2 separate regions of the Homo sapiens genome follow, and region 1 is linked to region 2. The links are contacts of gene promoters, found by promoter capture Hi-C in blood cells and fetal thymus (Javierre and others, 2016). All regions are on one chromosome and are shown on one strand. The core of a region is centred on a gene start or on the middle of the fragment in contact, and the rest is flanking DNA. Distances in the headings are between cores, read along the strand shown. Region 1 has its middle 35 kb from the start of MYBPC1. Region 2 holds the start of CHPT1 (choline phosphotransferase 1).

Evidence for each region. The method cuts DNA at HindIII sites, captures the fragments that hold promoters and counts their contacts. A CHiCAGO score of 5 or more calls a contact.
Region 1: a fragment that was not itself captured here is called in contact with the fragment with the promoter of CHPT1 in region 2 in 3 of 17 cell types (naive B cells, total B cells and monocytes); the score reaches 6.5 in naive B cells.

The regions. Positions count from the first base shown.
Region 1 is chr12:101,556,925-101,562,087 of GRCh38, forward strand. No RefSeq gene overlaps it. Among named protein-coding and RNA genes, the nearest start is that of MYBPC1, 35 kb to the right of the region's middle. The HindIII fragment of the contact is 6,553 bases long and covers 1-4,814 here.
Region 2 is chr12:101,695,421-101,700,267 of GRCh38, forward strand. CHPT1 (choline phosphotransferase 1) reads left to right here and starts at 2,220. Exons shown (of 9, transcript NM_020244.3): 1 at 2,220-2,714. The coding sequence starts at 2,442. It also overlaps a transcript of MYBPC1 not described here. RefSeq lists an enhancer at 1,694-1,943 and silencers at 2,164-2,503, 2,764-2,953. The HindIII fragment of the contact is 18,657 bases long and covers 1-4,847 here.

The DNA.
Region 1 (5,163 bases), core at 288-2,787, 140 kb before region 2:
GGTGGCTCACACTTCTAATCCCAGCATTTTGGGATGCCAAGGTGGGTGGATCATTTTAGGCCAGGAGTTTGAGACCAGCCTGGCCAAAATGGTGAAACCTGCATCTCTACTAAAAATTAAAAAATTAGCTGGGCAGAGTGGCATGCGCCTGTAATCCCAGCTACTCAGGATGCTGAGGCACAAAAATTACTTGAACCCAGGAGATGGAGGTTGCAGTCAGCCGAGATTGTGCCACTGCACTTCAGCCTGGGCAACAGAGCGAGACTCCATCTCAAAAAATAATAATAATAAGATACCATTTTGGGGGGAAAATATTGGGGGAAATATTTAAAATATTGGTAGCATTCAGTGCTGACAAAGATATTGTGCAATAGACATTGCGATATGTTGCTGTTAAGACTTTGAGTTACTACAAGTTTTGGGGAAGGAAACGTAGCAGTATGCACCAAAATAAAAAATATGATACCCCTTTACCCAGGAATTGTTCTTCCTGAAGTCTCTCCTAAATAAATGAAAGTACCAGAATATAAAGCTATTCATATAAGGATGTTTACTGAAGCATTATTTGGGCAAAAATTTTGGAAGCAACTCGAATGACCAATAAGATGGAAAAAATGAAAAATTTTTATATATTCACACTAATAAAAATAGTGAATTAGTGCTATATGTATTGCCTTAGTAATATTCGAGATATATTGAGGGAAATCAAAAATTTGTACTATAATGTGCATAGTTCAATCTATTCAACATTTTTTTTTCCCTCAGAGATGGGGTCTTGCTCTGTTGCCTGGGCTGGTGTGTTGTGGCATGATCAGAGCTCACTGCAGCCTTAAACTTCTGGGCTCAAGTCATCCTCCTGCCTCAGTCTCCCAAGTAGCTGAAATTATAGGTACAAGCCATGGCACCCAGCACATTCAAATATTTAAAAAGGAAAAAGGAAAAGGCTTACATATGCACAAATGTATTTGTCCAAAATAGAAAAATGTGTGGAAGGATACACATCAACTGTTACCATTAGTTACCTTGAGGTTGGAGGTATAAACTGTTGAGAAAAAGAATCCTCCGTGTTGGCGGTCCGTTGAGAAACTGGTATGTGGACAGATATTTGGGGACCTTGAAAATCAGTGGAATCATTATGGGGAGGATTAAATGAATTATACTCTCTTTGGGATATAGCCAAAGAAATAGCTACATCTCTTCTCTTTATGACTTCTTTCCTTAAAAAAAAAAATGGTATGACCATTCAGGACATAGGCATGGGCAAGGACTTCATGACTAAAACACCAAAAGCAATGGCAATAAAAGCCAAAATTGACAAATGGGATCTAATTAAACTAAAGAGCTTCTGCACAGCAAAAGAAACTACCATCAGAGTGAACAGACAACCTACAGAATGGGAGAAAATTTTTACAATCTACCCATCTGACAAAGGGCTAATATCCAGAATCTACAAAGGACTTAAACAAATTTACAAGAAAAAAACAAACAACCCCAACAAAAAGTGGGCAAAGGATATGAACAGACACTTCTCAAAAGAAGACATTTATGCAGCCAAAAGACACATGGAAAAAATGCTCATCATCACTGGTCATCAGAGAAATGCAAATCAAAACCACAATGAGATACCATCTCACACCAGTTAGAATGGCAATCATTAAAAAGTCAGGAAACAACAGGTGCTGGAGAGGGTGTGGAGAAATAGGAACACTTTTACACTGTTGGTGGGACGTAAACTAGTTCAGCCATTGTGGAAGACAGTGCGGCAATTCCTCAAGGATCTAGAACTAGAAATACCATTTGACCCAGTGATCCCATTACTGGGTATATACCCAAAGGATTATAAATCGTGCTGCTATAAAGACACATGCACATGTATGTTTACTGCAGCACTATTCACAGTAGCAAAGATTTGGAACCAACCCAAATGTCCATCAATGTATAGACTGGATTAAGAAAATGTGGCACATATACACCATGGAATACTATGCAGCCATAAAAATGGATGAGTTCATGTCCTTTTTAGGGACATGGATGAAGCTGGAAATCATCATTCTGAGCAAACTATCGCAAGGACAGAAAACCAAACATCGCATGTTCTTACTCATAGATGCGAATTGAACAATGAGAACACTTGGACTCAGGGTGGGGAACATCACACACCGGGGCCTGTCGTGGGGTGGGGGGAGCGGGGAGTGATAGCATTAGGAGATATACGTAATGTAAATGATGAGTTAATGGGTGCAGCACACCAACATGGCACATTTATACATGTGTAACAAATCTGCACGTTGTGCACATGTACCTTAGAACTTAAAGTATAATAAAAAATAAATAAATAAAAAAGGGTATGAATGTTTCTACGGCAGTGCTATAGAAAACCCACATGGCTGAAAAGCAGGCAGTAGTTAAGCAAACCACAAGGTACTAAGTCATAGAGCAATAGAATAGTAGAGGCCAGAAGTATGGTATCTGTTGGGCATGTGTTTGAGTTCTGGCTCTACTAGTTGCTGGCTGTGTGACCATAGGCACGTTGCTTATCTGTGAGCTTTGATGTCTTTATTTAGAAATGGCAATAGCAATAGTGTCTAGCTCATAGATTTGCTCTGAGGATTAAATGAGATATGCATATCATTATGATTACTACCACTTTATAACTTATGAAATGAATAAGTAAATGAATATGTGAATGGAAAACTCTGTAAGTTACTGTTACTTGAAAAGGCAGATTAGGATATGTTGCTCGATCTTAATTTTACAAAAATTACTTACACAATGATTAAAAGCAAAAGGTCTTAAAATTTTGTAAATGTCAGTAGTTGGTATTTTAACATTGAATTATTTGTCTCTTTAATTTTATTGATACTTTATTTTATTTATTTATTCTTTTAATTTAATTTTATTTTAAGTTCCAGGATACGTGTGCAGGACGTGCAGGTTTGTTACATAGGTAAACGTGTGCCATGGTGGTTTGCTGCATCTATCAACCCATCACCTAGGTATTAAGCCCTGCATGCACTGGTGATTTATTCTGATGCTCTCCCCACCTCCACTCCACCATCCCTACAGGCACTGGTGTGTGTTATTTGCCTTCCTGTGTCCATGTGTTCTCATTGTTCAGCTCCCACTTATGAGTGAGAACATGTGGTGTTTGGTTTTCTGTTCCTGTGTTAGTTTGCTGAGGACGATGGCTTCCAGCTTCATCCATGTCCCTGCAAAGGACATGATCTCATTCCTTTTCATGGCTGCATAGTATTCCATGGTGTATATGTACCATATATCCTTCCTTTTTTTTTCTTTTTTCTTTTCCTTTCCTTTCTTTTCTTTTTTTCTCCTTCCTTCCTTCCTTTCTTTCTCTCTCTCTCTTTCCTTCCTTCCTTCCTTCCTTTCTTTTTCTCTTTCTTTCTTTCTCTTTCTTTCTTTCTTTCTTTCTTTCTTTCTTTCTTTCTTTCTTTCTTTCTTTCTTTCTTTCTTTCTTTCTTTCTTTCCTTCTTGAGACGGAGTTTCGATCTTGTTGCCCAGGCTGGTGTGCAATGGCACGATCTCAGCTCACTGCAACCTCCGCTTCCCAGGTTCAAGTGATTGTCCTGCCTCAGCCTCCCAAGTAGCCGGGATTACAGGCACCTGCCACCATACCCGGCTAATTTTTTTTTTTTTTTGTATTTTTAGTAGAGATGGGGGTTTCACCATGTAGGCCAGGCTGGTCTCGATCTCCTGACCTCAGGTGATCCACCCGCCTCTGCCTCCCAAAATGTTAGGATTATAGGCGTGAACCACCGTGCCCGGCCCATTTTCTTCATCCAGTCTATAATTGATGGGCATTTGGGTTGATTCCATGTCTTTGCTATTGTGAATAGTGTTGCAATAAACATACATGTGCATGTATCTTTATAATAGAATGATTTATATTTCTTTGGGTACATACTCAGTAATGGGATTCCTGGGTCAAATGGTATTTCTGGTTCCAGATCCTTGAGGAATCACCACACTGTCTTCCACAGTGGTTGAACTAATTTGCATTCCCACCAACAGTGTAACAGCATTCCTATTTCCTCAAAGCCTCACCAGTATCTGTTGTTTCTTGACTTTTTAATAATTGCCATTTTAACTGGAGTGAGATGGTATCTCATTGTGATTTTGATTTGCATTTCTCTAATGATTAATGATGTTGATCTTTTTTTCATGTATTTGTTGGCCACATAAATGTCTTATTTTGAGAAGTGTCTGTCCATGTCCTTTGCCCACTTTTTGATGGGTTGTTTGTTTTTTTCTTGTAAATTTCTTTAAGATCCTTGTTAATTCTGAATATTAGACCTTTGTCAGTTGGGTAGATTGCAAAATTTTTCTCCCATTCTGTAGGTTGCCTGTTCACTCTGGTGATAGTTTCTTTTGCTGTGCAGAAGCTCTTTTTTTTTATTTTAAAATTTTTATTTAAACAAGACAGGGTCTCGCTATGTTGACCAGGCTGGTCTTGAACTTCTGGCCTCAAAAAATCCTCCCACCTCTGCCTTCCAGAGGGTTGGGATTACAGGTGGGATCCAGTGCACCCACCTGATACTTTACTTTAAAGGTGGTTAATTATTTAATTACATAATAGCTTAAGTAACTATATCATATTGAAAGCAAATCCAAGAAACAAAATTGTTTAGCCTACTCTTTGACAATAAAAAGTAATGATTTGTGGTAGGCTTTATACAAGTGTTTATTATGTCTCCCCCACATTCCCTACACACACACACACACACACACACACACACACACACACACACACACACCCTCCTCCCAGAATAGTACCACATTCCCTAGGCTGCTCATCAAGCTTGTGGCTGGCAGTTGCAGTCTTAGCAAAATACAGTCTTCTAGGATGTCTTGCCAGAAAGACCAAGGCCAGGGCTGGCTGAGGCAGTTGGAGCAGATTCACTCAAGTCAGAGATCCAAGAGCAGGGAACACACAGACACTGTGTACCTATGCAGGAAAACTATATCAGCCTGGTGACAAACAAACAAAAACCCTAGAAGCCCCTGGTCCTTAGTAGAGCAGACGAGTCCCCTCAGAACTGGCTCAGCTTCTTTGTTAGTCACCCAGGCCCCTACCCTTTGCTCTGGCCAAACCAGCCCTCTCACCAGTCCCTGCACACACCATGACATACACACCTGCTTGCCTTT
Region 2 (4,847 bases), core at 970-3,469:
AAACTCACACTTTATTTCTGGAATTTTCTATTTAATATTTTTGGACTGTGGTTGACTGTGGGTATCTAAAACTGCAGAAAAGTAAAACCAGGGACAAAGGGAGACTACTGTATGGAGAAGTGTTGTTTGGGAGTTTTGGAGAGGCACCCCAGTTTGCTCACCAGCCAGTGATATCTACTTTTTGTTTTTCCTGTCCTCTTACTCCTTCCTGCTGCTTGAAACACAAATAAGATGACTGGAGCTTCACCAGCCATTCTGAATCATGAGATGGCCTTATAGATACAAGTCAGAGAGGATATTGGAGCAGAGAGACAGAAAAGCCTGAGTTCCTGATGACCATGGAAACATCGTACCAGTCTTGGAGTGCCAATTCTGTACTTCTTTTATGTGAGAGAGAAATAAATTCCTGTTGTCTAAGCTATTCAGTCTGTGGTATTTTGTTATGACAATCCAAGCTGACTAATACACCTGCTTCTTTTTTTTTTTCAGTCAACATATGCTTGTGCAATTCACTCATGTTCATAAGTGCACCCTGGAACATTACCATGTTCCAGGGCTTCTCCTATAGAAACAGAACATAGCCCAGTTGATTATTTTTTATTCTGATTGATTTTTAGGAGTTCTTTACATAATCTGGGTTCTACTCATTGTGGGTTTTGAGGGAAATACCTTTTCCCAGTTTATGGCTTGTCTTTTCATTCTCTTGATGACGTCTTTTGATGTACATTAAAAATTATCTTTAATACAGTGAAATCGGCTAATCTAGAAAAGGATTTTTTCCTTGGACTGTTCATGGCATCGGTAAATTAAAAAGTAGTTACTGTCAAGTTCACTGCACATAAACCAGCATTGTTAAAAGTGGATCTCCATCATTCCATTTCCTTTCCTGCATTTGTCAGCATCGTTTTTCACACTAAAGATGAGGAGATCCATATTCCTAAGACATATACGCTTGGTCTGTAGAGACCCTCATTGCTCTAAGGCAGTGGTTGCCAGTTTTTTCCTTAAAGGGCCTAGTAGGACATAGTCCAGGCTTTGCCAGCCATACGGTCTGTCACAACTGAATTCTGCTGCCCTTGTAGCATGAAGGCAGCCAAACAATAGGTAAGGAATAAACATGGCTTTATTCGTGGCACTGAACTTTGAATTTCATATAATTTCACAACACAAAATTGTATTCTTTTGATTTTTTCCAATCATTTAAAAATGTCAAAACCATACTTAGCTGGAGGGCTGTAGGAAAACAGGTGGTGGGCTGGGTCTGGCACACAGGCAGCAGTTCGTGGACCCCTGTGCCAAGTGTTTGACGAAGCCCGTGAGGCAAACTGCACTTGCCGATAGAGGTTGCGCCACACAAGTGTCTTGGAAGCAATTTCTGGCTTGTCCTAGGCCTTAGAAAGTGCGTGCAGATCAGAGCCATGAAGTGAAGAGCAAAGCAAGTGACAGGCCTGTCTCAGGTTGTGCAACAGAACGTGTTTATGACAGATGTCCCCTGTCCAAGTGAGTGCACTGTGAGATAAGGGGCCGGTGACCTACCAATGCGTGTGGCAAGCCAGCCTGTTCCCCCTTGCAGGGGGAGGACACTCCTGCCCTTTATTCCAGGGAAGAGTATGTGTAAAAATATTCACCCTTGTTGGTATCAAATGCGCTGAAGAAAATAGGTATCGGGGTTTCAGCCATTCGGTCTCCTTGTTAGTGTTTCTAAGCCCTGATTTTCAGTTTCAAAACCTTGGTCTCTGAATCCGCAGTGATGGGTCTCTAGAGCGAATACATGGCAGGGCCGCCTTCCTCCGTACAGAAAGGGAGAATTGTGCTTGTGTGTTTTACCAAGCAGGACAGATGGGGCCGTCACCCCCGTGACCCGAGCCCTGCAAAACTGTGTTCTCACACGAAAACCCCCAGGCTCTGCGGGCAGCGTGGTCCTGCAGTGGCTAACACTGGGCGACCGGAGTCGTGTTCCGACCCCTAGGAGAGGAACCGGCTCGGTCGTGGTGCAGCCCGCGAGGAGACGACCTCAGGGCGTAATCCGACGCCGTGGGTTAAGACATCAGACCTCAGGCGCAGTGCAGCCGGCCCCTGGGGAGTCAAGGACCTTGATCGCCGATAACAAGTTGCCGTTGGCGGGCGCCGAGGGTGACCCGCGAGCGCGGCACCCGCCTCCCCGCCCCTAGCAGGACCCCCTCCGCCCCGCCCCCAGCCGGACCCCTCCCCGAGGCCCCGCCCCACCCGCGAGCCGCAGCCGCGGCCCCACAGCTTCTGGGGCTGGGGCCCCGGCAGCCGGGCAGGCCGGCCTGACCTCGACCTCCGCCGTGCGGGCCCGACCGGTGAGTCCAGCCCGGCAGTCGCAGGACCCGGCCGCCAGCCTCTCCCTCCACCTCTCCCTGCCCCCAGCGCCAGGCGCGGGCTGCGCTCGGTGGCGGCGGCGGGGCCCTCAGGCGGCCATGGCGGCAGGCGCCGGGGCCGGGTCCGCGCCGCGCTGGCTGAGGGCGCTGAGCGAGCCGCTGAGCGCGGCGCAGCTGCGGCGACTGGAGGAGCACCGCTACAGCGCGGCGGGCGTCTCGCTGCTCGAGCCGCCGCTGCAGCTCTACTGGACCTGGCTGCTCCAGTGGATCCCGCTCTGGATGGCCCCCAACTCCATCACCCTGCTGGGGCTCGCCGTCAACGTGGTCACCACGCTCGTGCTCATCTCCTACTGTCCCACGGCCACCGAAGAGGTAGGGCTGGCCGATCGCCCGAGCCGGGCCCCAGATGCGCTGCGGGCGGGTCGCTGGAGGCGCCGGGGGAAGGGCGGACCCACGCGCGGCTGAGCCTCTCCCGGGCCCCGGAGGGGCGGACTGGCCACTGCCCCGGGCGGTGTCCGCCCTGGGCCGCCTGGAGACTGTCACGCCACTATCCCAATCCCGTGACCATCCCAAGCCTCCCCTGGGCAGCGGAGGGGCTGTTAAGGTCACTGCCCCAGGTCCTATGTCCGCGCAGATCCTCCCCACGGCCGCGGACGGGCCGGAGGGCGCCTGCCCAGCCGCTATCCCATGCGGCGCCAACCTGTGAGACGGACCCGCGGTCGGGTGCTTTGCACACTGGGGACTGAACACCCCCATCTCCGTCCTGCCTGGCACAGGGACTTGTGCCAAGCCCGAGACGCCCTTTGAATACTTTCGTAACCGTTCGTTTCTGGAAGGTTGAGCTAGTGATCTTGAAATGACCGGTAGCACTGATCAAAGATGAGTTAAGAGGTAACTTCCTCTTTGCTTCATCGACTTTTTCAAGAAAAACAAACTGGAATGTTATCAAGGCAATAATTTTTTTGTCATCACAACCTAGGGATTAAAAAAACCCCAACATTTTATTAGCAATAATTACATTTGACCTTTGTACAAAATAAGGAGTAAATATAGGCTTTGGATAGCTGTTCATCAGAAGCACCCTTTGGGCTGAGTGTGGAGGGATAGGGGGCAGAGTGGAGTTCACTCCCATCTATAGTTTATACTACGTGGGATAAATATTACATTGCACATTCTGTGACATTACTTTCTATTCTCTGCTCCAAATAGTGAAGTCCCTTTATAATCATTTGAGTGTAGGCCTTGTGGAGGACTCATGGAGGTTGAGGTTGGATTAACAGAAATACAGTGGAAATATTTCATGCCCTCCATGCATGCATCCATTTTGTTGTTGTTTTTGAGACAGGGGTTTACTCTGTCACCCAGGCTGGAGTGCCGTGCCGTGGCTCGATCTCGGCTCACTGCAACCTCCGCCTTCAGGGTTCAAGCGATTCTTCTGCCTCAGCCTTCCAAGTAGCTGGGATTACAGGCGCGTGCCACCACGGCCGACTCACTTTTGTGTTTTTAGTAGATACAAGGTTTCACCATGTTGGCCAGGCTCATGCATCCTTTAAAAACAAAAATTTGATCGAGCCTACATTTTAAAATATCTTGTCAATGGATTGGTATGCTTATTATGTATTTCTTTTCTTTTTTTTTTTTTTGAGACAGAGTCTCGCTCTGTCACCCAGGCTGGAGGGCAATGTGGTGATCTCGGCTCACTGCAACCTCTGCCTCCTGGGTTCAAGCGATTCCCTTGCCTCAGCCTCCTGAATAGCTGGGACTACACGTGCCTGCCACCACGCCCGGCTAATTTTTGTATTTTTAGTAGAGACGGGGTTTCACCATATTGGCCAGGCTGGTCTCGAACTCCTGACCTCAAGTGATCCGCCTGCCTCGGCCTCCCAAAGTGCTGGTATTTACAGGAGTGAGCCACTGCGCCAGGCTTATTATATATTTCTTAATAGACATTCCCATTGTCATTTGCCATTGCTATTCATTTACATATTACATATGAAAAAGTAAGCTGCTTTAGTTTTTGGCTGTTTTGCTGCCTGTTTCTAGAATTTACCAGAGGGAGTGTGTTAGAATGAAAGGATAGCTGGGTTGGAAGTGGAGGTCTTGGTTTCTAACTGGCTCTTCCACCACAGACCTGCTGGGTCTGTGTTCCCACAGATACAATAGAAAATAATGCCTGCCAAAACAACTTGACAAGGATGCAGTGAGGACCAAATGATATATATGCAGATAAATGTAAAAGATTGCGATGTGCCTAACAAATTAAAAATATCACTCAACACATTAAAAATATTACTGTTATCAGACAACATCCTGAAAACACATAATAAAATTTAGTTTTGATTGGGTCCAGATTTAGCTAACAGCATTTGAATGTTTCTGATATTGGCCAGTTAAGTTGTGGACTCTTCAATGTTATTATTAATTTAAGAAGCATTTGTTGAACACTTAGAAAGAGCAGGGCTTACCAAAAAAGTCAAGAGCTTCTGCCTAGGGAAGTAAAGGGAG